Linked DNA regions of Homo sapiens: all the other regions are linked to region 1. Evidence: promoter capture Hi-C in 16 types of primary human blood cells and fetal thymus (Javierre and others, 2016). All regions are on one chromosome and are shown on one strand. The core of a region is centred on a gene start or on the middle of the fragment in contact, and the rest is flanking DNA. Distances in the headings are between cores, read along the strand shown. Region 1 holds the start of CCDC13-AS1 (CCDC13 antisense RNA 1). Region 2 overlaps SEC22C (SEC22 homolog C, vesicle trafficking protein). Region 3 has its middle 3.8 kb from the start of SEC22C.

What was found. The method cuts DNA at HindIII sites, captures the fragments that hold promoters and counts their contacts. A CHiCAGO score of 5 or more calls a contact.
Region 2: a fragment that was not itself captured here is called in contact with the fragment with the promoter of CCDC13-AS1 in region 1 in 1 of 17 cell types (M0 macrophages); the score reaches 5.4 in M0 macrophages.
Region 3: a fragment that was not itself captured here is called in contact with the fragment with the promoter of CCDC13-AS1 in region 1 in 2 of 17 cell types (M0 macrophages and M2 macrophages); the score reaches 7.2 in M0 macrophages.

The regions. Positions count from the first base shown.
Region 1 is chr3:42,731,215-42,733,955 of GRCh38, forward strand. It overlaps CCDC13-AS1 (CCDC13 antisense RNA 1), which reads left to right and starts at 1,361. Exons shown (of 4, transcript NR_046732.1): 1 at 1,361-1,444. It overlaps CCDC13 (coiled-coil domain containing 13), which reads right to left. Exons shown (of 16, transcript NM_144719.4): 11 at 2,256-2,395; 12 at 1,673-1,756. RefSeq lists enhancers at 1,083-1,377, 1,907-2,592, 2,593-2,741 and a silencer at 1,083-1,377. The HindIII fragment of the contact is 15,297 bases long and covers 1-2,741 here.
Region 2 is chr3:42,550,340-42,553,080 of GRCh38, forward strand. SEC22C (SEC22 homolog C, vesicle trafficking protein) reads right to left here. Exons shown (of 7, transcript NM_032970.4): 7 at 1-2,741. Among named protein-coding and RNA genes, the nearest start is that of VIPR1-AS1, 19 kb to the left of the region's middle. The HindIII fragment of the contact is 1,027 bases long and covers 808-1,834 here.
Region 3 is chr3:42,584,363-42,587,103 of GRCh38, forward strand. It overlaps a transcript of SEC22C not described here and a transcript of SS18L2 not described here. Among named protein-coding and RNA genes, the nearest start is that of SEC22C, 3.8 kb to the left of the region's middle. The HindIII fragment of the contact is 5,967 bases long and covers 1-2,741 here.

The DNA.
Region 1 (2,741 bases), core at 111-2,610:
ACTTTTCCCAGTGAGACCCTGAGCTTACTTTTCTAGCAGTACAGGGCATAGGGAAGGCTGCAGAGCTGGGCAGTGTACTGAAAACTGGGCTGGGGCATGTGATCCTGAGGGCTGACTTCTCGGTGGTCTTGGGCAGGTCTCTTCCTCTCTCTTGGCCCCAGTTCCCCCACTAAACATTGAGAGGGGTGGTTTAGATGGGCTCCGAGAACTGCAGACCCCTCTGTGACTCCTAAATATGCTCTAAGGCCTTGCTACTACAAGTGGTCTCTGAATCGGTGGCTCTGGCATCTCCTAGCAGCTTGTTAGAAATGCAGAATCCCAGGCTTTACCCCAGACCTGCTGAATCAGAACCCACACTTGACCTGGCTGATCAGCAGGGGCTCTGTGTGTGCACTGCAGTTTGGAAAGCCCCATTCATTTCCCCAGTTCTAGAATGTGGGAAGAGGAGGAGCAGGAGCAAAGGGCCGATTCTTCACTCTGCCCTCCTCCCAGGCACCCCACCAGAGTCACCTGAAGGGAATGGGTTCAAACCATGCCAGCCCGAATAGACATACTCTCTGGGATCACTCTGCCCTGTGAATTCCTGTCCTGTCACCTGTGGGAGGGGACTGTAAGCTCCATGAGGGTAGGGCCCACACATGGTCGAGTTTAGTAAGTATTTGTGTGTTGTGGAAGAAACAAGCCTGACAACCAGCAGTCTGGGCAGCCAAGGCACAGAGCAGCTCCTGTATTTCTGTGTGGCACAGAGGTCACAGCCACACAGGCCTGGAAGGGGCTCGAAGGGGTCATCTTGTCCATCTTCCTGCTCTCTTTACTGTGACTAAAACCTCAGAGAGGCAGAGCCTCCCCAATCTCCCTGTGCTGTGACAAGACCTCCCACCCTAAGGAGCGTGGCACATGCCTTGTGGCTCAGTGTCAGCCCACTCTCCCCAAGTGCCTTTATGACCCCAGCCTGATGGGTGGGGCAGCTTTGGCCCACAGACCCTATGCTGCCAAGTGTCAGCAGCATGCTGTCCCCCACTTTTCGGGGATAGCAGCCCAGAGAAGGACCAGTTTGCCTGGAGCCACAGAGATGAGGGACTGGGGCCACTTGGAGGCTTTGCCTGGAACCTGAGCTGACCTGCCTGAGGGGTCAGGGTGGGGAGTGTTGACAGCAGGAGCATGGCTCCAGTGGACAGTGGGCAGGGCTCGGGACAGGGCTTAGAGGCAGGACAACGCTGTCCTTTGTCTATGGGCTGGCAGTAGGAACAAAGGGCCCATTTACACCCTCTGGCTTGATTCTGTCAACAAAGAGGGGGCCCAAGGTCTGAGGGGATATCAGTGGGAACCCATATCATGTGAAATTCTCCCCTTAGAGGCTGATTCTCAATGAGCAAGAGAAGATGAGGGAAGGTGCTAGAAGCCAGGCCCAGGAAGGTTCCTCAGGTTAATTCTCACGTAGCAGGTAGGAACCCTAGCCTGGGAGTCAGAGGCCAAGATTCTAGTTCTGAAGCTGCTTACTCTATCATCTTGGACAGGACTTCCCTGATCCTCCCTGTCTTTATGTAACCTTGGAAGAGTCCCTGGACTTTGCCTGGCCTCAGTTTCCCCTCCTTTTAATGGGATGGCAATACTGGTTGAGCAATCAAGAATGGGAAAAAACTGTGAGAGTCCGGGGGTCGGGGGTCCATACCTAGGTGAGGTCCTGTGGGGACTGGGCAGGGAAGGCCTCGTGAGAGCAGATTCCACCAGTGTGTGGCCCAGGCTGGTCACAGAGCTGTGTAAAGGCGGAAGGGGCCCATCAGCCTGGGAAGGCAGACCAGGCCCTACTGGGCCTCACCTCTGCATGTGAGGTGGAGCAGTGGCCAGCAGGGGTCCAGGAAACCCTTGCAGCAGTCCTGTGGATTTGCTGCCCTTCTTTCCAGAACTCTTGTTTGCTCAAAATGAGACAGAACAGGAGACACCAGAGCCTTGAACAACCCAACACGGGTCTGTTTGAAGGCCCCAGGGGCAGAAAACTTTTGAGGCCAGCTCAGAAAGGCTCTTACAGAGAGCTGCAACCAGCATGCTCTTGAAGTGATAAAATCTGGGCCTAACCGGCTCATTTCTGCAGACGCAGAGCTAATGTCATAGGAGAGGCCCACGTATTGGAAGAACAACAGCATAGTCATCTTAAAATTGCACCTGTGGCTTCCCATCAGAGGTAGCAAGAAACAACCTTTCTTCCGAATAATTAATGTTCACTTTCCAACCCCTCCCTCCCATTGTTTTCTTACCGAGAAGATCCAAGCCTGCCAACATGATCGCCTGCTGAGGCCGGGGACTTGGTCAGGCCTGGGTCCTCCAGGAACTGGGTATAGGCAGGGCTGACCTCGCGGCCACTGGACCCCTCACCCACTCCTTTATTCCGAAGATACTGTAGGAACAGATGTGGGTTCCATCCTCAGGGCTTTGGCTCAGAGGCCTAGAGAAGGCAGGAGGGGATCTTGGCTTGATTTCGGGGCTTTCAGAGGATATGAAAGAGGCTTCTTTTCAGGAGTGAAAAGCGAGGCCTGTTTGGTGAAGGCACTACTTGCATGATAATGACATCTAATAATGCCTCTCTTCAGAAAGAAAGCTACATGGTGTGAGGACGGTGACTGGGCCAGGAAGCTGTTCTACATTCAGGTTCCAGAGGGAGGTGCACGGCCCTGCATGCGGGGCAGGTCAGAGACTGACGTCTCTGAGTGGGTCCGCTTCTCCAGGCGGCCCCACCCACATGT
Region 2 (2,741 bases), core at 71-2,570, 180 kb before region 1:
GTCCATGGTGGAGTGAGGATAACTCCTGGGATTTGGAACCAGTTTGCTGGTATCAAGGATCACACAAGAGGCTATAAACCTCCAACCCTGAACCAAGTCAAACCTAAGCCTGGGGATTTCCCTCGGATGAAATCACCAGAACTTCTTTCCTATTTTCAGTCTCTTCCTTCAGTGAGCTGAGGATTCTTTTAGCTAGCTGGATTTCAGTCAAACAATGTTTTTGTGGTCATTACTTGTACTGTTTTTCTAGTGCATCTTTTCCCTTTTGTTTGCAAAAGTCAATCTCACCCCATGTAGATGTTAACTGATATCCACACATTCGACCTGGTGTGGATAACATCTCTGGTAGTGCCTCGGTGGTCAGGAAGCATTACCAGGAAGGACTCATCTTCAAGGACCGTTTCTTTACTGCCTGCTGAATATGGATCATAGGCTCAGATGCCCAAAGCACCTGGGGTACAGGTCTACATGGCAACCCAATGCCACATAGGAAAAGAAAACAGTCCATTTTTAAGCCGTTCTTACCGACTTTTTTTTTTTTTTTTTTTGAGACGGAGTCTTGCTTTGTCACCAGGCTGGAGTGCAGTGGCTCGATCTCGGCTCACTGCAACCTCCACCTCCCGGGTTCAAGAGATTCTCCTGCCTCAGCCTCCTGAGTAGCTGGGGCTACAGGCACAAGCCACCGTGCCCAGCTAATTTTTGTATTTTTAGTAGAGATGGGGTTTCACCATGTTAGCCAGGATGGTCTCGATCTCTTGACCTCGTGATCTGCCCACCTCAGCTTCCCAAAGTGTTATTGACTTTTAAAGCTTTTTTGTTCTTCTCATTTAAAACATTTTACCTCCCCTCCTTAACTTCCCATTCTATTTCACCATCTCTTCAAAATTGTCTCCCAGAAAAACTGAAAATTCACCTGCTGGGTATGCAGAAAATTATGCAGATGTGAAATCAGTGTAGAGACAACTTTGGAGTTTATGTCTGAGTATGCTGCCAATATAATTTTCATATTCAGACTTTTTAGAGACAGGGTTTCACTCTGTCATGCAGGCTGGGGTGCAGTGGTGTGATTATAGCTCATGGAAGCCTCAAACTCCTGGACTCAAGGGATCCTCCTGCCTCAGACTCCCAAAGTGCTGGGATTACAGGCATGTGCCATCACATCCGGCTAATTTTTTTTTTTGTAGAGATGAATCTTACTATGTTGTCCAGGCTGGTCTCAAACTACTGGCCTCAACCGAGTCTCCTGCTTTGGCCTTCCAAAGTGCTGGGAATACAGGCATGAGCCATCATGCCTGGCCCATATCCAAATATTTTATGTTTGGTCAAAAATAGAAAATTCTATTATAAAAAATAAAGTTACTATGGCAACATTTTCCCAACATAGTTCCCAGTATATAAACTTATTTTTCTTAAAATGATAACAAGGTAGCTCAATAACAATACAATACCAGTGATAACCAAATATAATTGAATTTTTCTAAAACTACATTCTTACATTCCCTATCCACTCAACTCTTGTAATGGTTTTCCACTTTTAAAAACTATCAAAATAGGATTTTTAAAAATTTATCAAGACCACATAATGCAGTTGAACACTCAAAGTGTTCCATGCAACTGTGGTTGAACTATTCAGATTCCAGACTTCTACCAAGAACAATCCAAAGAGCAAACTCCCAAAATGACCTCCTGCGTGGTACAAAACAAGCCAGGCTGAAATTTCGGGAAACCTAAGGGATCTTATCCAGAACCATATTTTGGAAAACTGTGATCAATCAATTTTTTGACAGTGAAAGAGAGTAACTTTCCAGAGTATGTGTTAATTATATCTCTATCAAGCTTTAAAAAGTTAACAGATACTTAACTCTTGTTCATAAAAAATGAGGCCCTCAAGCTAATTAAGATGACTGGGAAAGGTGCAGAGGAGTAATTAATTTTGGAGGCGCTCTGGGAACAGGTACACAGGGTACAGTAGTCATCATCATTAAAACAACAGGCACTCAGCTCTACTGAAAAGGCTGATGACAGCAGCCCCTCCCAAGCGGATCTGTAAAGTGCCACTGAATCCATGTTCATTCACCTACTCCAGGTTGTGGTCAATTGTAAGTAATCCTGAAATTCTCATTTCTGCTCATGCTGACAAACTTATCATCTAGAAGTACTGGTTATTCAATTAATTTTTAAAATATTCGGATATACCCTGCAAATAAATATAAAACATCTCTGTACCCAAACAGTCCCACCACTATAAAAGGTTACATATAAATTAAATAAACTCAGATTTCTTAACCATTTTCTCAGCTTAAGTTTGCCCTCACCCTAAATGAAGTCCAATTTATATCCAAAATATAATTAAATATTCCAAAGGTATATCGAACCTAAGATATTGAAAAAATGTAAACAAAATTTATCTAGCTTACATTTATGAACCATATTTTTAGGTTTTTAATTCATCCTGTACTGACCCTCTGAAAAAAAAAACTAATCAAGTTATGTTTAGACTGAAAGCTGATTTGGATTTTAAAGTGGTTCCTTGGAGACAACTCTCAATGACTAAAACCAGTGTTATTGAATCAAGTGGTTTACTGTATCATTCAACTTAAAAGACCAAAATATTTCCTTTCTCTCTTCCAATAAAGCTCTTTCTGGATGAGCCCCCAGATCCAGCTGTCCTAGGTAAACGTGCTGAACTGGCTGGAGATCCTGCAGTAATGCTTGGCACAGAACCAAGGCTGGGTATCAAG
Region 3 (2,741 bases), core at 90-2,589, 150 kb before region 1:
TTCTGCCTCAGCCTCCCAAGTAGCTGGGATTACAAGCATCTGCCAACACGCCCAGCTAATTTTTGTATTTTTAGTAGAGATGGGGGTTTCACCATATTGGCCAGTTTGGTCTCGAAATCCTGGCCTCAAGTGATCTGCCCGCCTTGGCCTCCCTAAGTGCTGGGATTACAGGCGTGAGCCACCACGCCTAGCCGGGACATAGACTTTTGAAAGTCAGCATCATATGGGCGGAAATCGAAGTGGGGCTTACATAGCCAGAGAAAAATTACAAAATGAAAACTGAAGAGAATTGTGATACAGTCTAAGATAGCCTCCAGGGTTCACCACCTCCTGGGATTTATACCCTTGTGTAGTCCCCTCCCACAATGAGTCTCTGATAATGAGGGTAGGTCATAACAGGCACAAAGAAGGAGAAAAACCAGGAGATTCAGGGTTGGTAAAGGCAATTGAAAACCCTGTAGCATAAGTGCTCTTCAAATATGGGGAATTGGGGCCAGGTGTGGTGGCTCACACCTATAATCCCAGCACTTTGGGAGGCCAAGGTGGGTGGATCACGAGGTCAGGGACCAGCCTGTCCAACATGGCAAAACCCCGTCTCTATTGAAAAATTACAAAAATTAGCCGGGCGTGATGGTGGACATCTGTGATCCCAGCTACTTGGGAGGCTGAGGCAGGAGAATCACTTGAACCTGGGAGGAGGAGGCTGCAGTAAGCCGAGATCGCACCATTGCACTCCAGCCTGACCTACAAGAGCGAAACTCCATCTCAAAAAACAAACAAAACAAAACAAAACAAACAAACAAATATGGGGAATTGGGCTCTCAAAACTTGTGGTGCGAGTGCTTTAGAACAGGACCTTACACTCTCTGACTGGTGCAACTGGTGTGGTTCAGGCACCATGGTAGATTGGACAACAGGGGTGAGATGTAGTACCTAAAGTCCTAGCTCTCATCTCCAATCATTGTTCACTTTGGCTCCAGGTTCACAGTCAACTCCAGAGTCTTTCTCTTCCAGTCCTCTTCAGTCCTCCACTCCTAGGGTAACACCCTGGACCACAGAAGAGCTCCACCTCTGAAGTTATAAATGCAGACACCTGATCTTTCATCTGTCCTTCTGCTATTCTCTGAATTCCTTTCATGGTTTCTCTAGCCTGCAGAAACTTCCAGTTCATTTGTCCCTCTACTTTGTTTTATTTATAAGCTCCATCGAGTCTTCATTTCCTTCCCCATCAGCTGAGAGTTCAGGGTTTATCACCTCCATCACATTCTTCCCAATATACTTATATTCCTTGCACAGTTATCTTTCTGGCATAACTAGAAGGATAGTAACACCCATCTGGCAGCACTACAATCCTGGAAGAATCCAACCTTCTGTCTTCTCTGAATCTGCTTCTTGGCTCTAAGTGCTGCTGGACAAAATCTCACAACCACACAGATCAGTGCTACATACATTGTCAACTTCAACTAGGTCCTCAACACCTTTCAGCGCTCCTATTTGCCAAGGCAGCTCTCTCTCCAGCTCTCCCCCAAAATCAACTTCCAAATATCCTGCATGCTCCCCAGATCTCCCACTCTTCAACCCCCCCTCCCCCGCTTGCTCTCCCAGGAACCTCCGTTACTGAAGAAAGAGCAACCATCAAAGTGATGTCCCTTAGCTCCAGACAACTCCTCTCCTTCCAGCTACCACCTTCTTTCCCCTCTCCCCTTTACAACCAAACCTCATGGAAAAAGTGGTCTATATGTGAACACTCCATTGCTTCACCTTCACCTTTCATTATTTCTCAGTCCCCTGCAGTTCTGATACCTGTTTCACCATATCACTGAAAATGCCCTCCTCAAAGACCTAGTCTTTATTCTTCCTTGTTCTTTTGTTGTTGTTGTTGAGACAGAGTCTCGCTCTGTCACCCAGGCTGGAGTGCAATGGCACTGAGGCTTACTGCAACCTCTGCCTGCCGGATTCAAGTGATCCTCCAGCCTCAGCCTCCCAAGTAGCTGGGACTACAGGCCTGTGCCACCATGCCTGGCTAATTTTTGTATTTTTAGTAGAGACAGGGTTTCAACATGTTAGCCAGGCTGGTCTCAAACTCCTGACCTCAAGTGATCTGCCTACCTCGGCCTCCCAAAGTGCTGGCATTACAGGTGTGAGCCACTGCACCCACCCCTTCCTTGACCTTTCAACAGCATTTGTCATTGCTGTCCTGTATGTCCTTTTCAGTCACTGTTTAAAAAAAAAAAAAAAGCCATAACCCCCACTCTCCTGGTTTTCCTCTTCCTATATCTCTAGTCTCTTTCTCCCCTCAGTCTCCATTGCAGCTTCTTTTCCTCTGCCATAAGAGAAACTATCACATTCTCCTTAGGCAGTCTTATCCACTACATAGTTCCAGTCAGTTTCTACAAGTGATGTTTCTCAAAGCTGTATCTCCAACCTAGCCTTTGTCCCTGAGTTTCAGCCCCAAATAGCCACAAGCCTCAACATCGTTTGACATCACCTCACACTGTACATTTCCACAACTGAATATATCACCTTCATTTCCATTCCAGCATCTCCCCCACTGTTCCCTGCCTACATAAGGGGCATCACCAGTTTCTCAGTTGCTTAACCCAGAACCCCAGAAGGCATCCCTAATTTCCCTTTTCTTTCCCTCCCCACTTGATCACTAAGGCCTGCCAAATCTACTTCTAATGTCTTTCAAATGCACACACTTCTTTTCTCATTGCTCCCACTATCTCTGGCCTGCATGC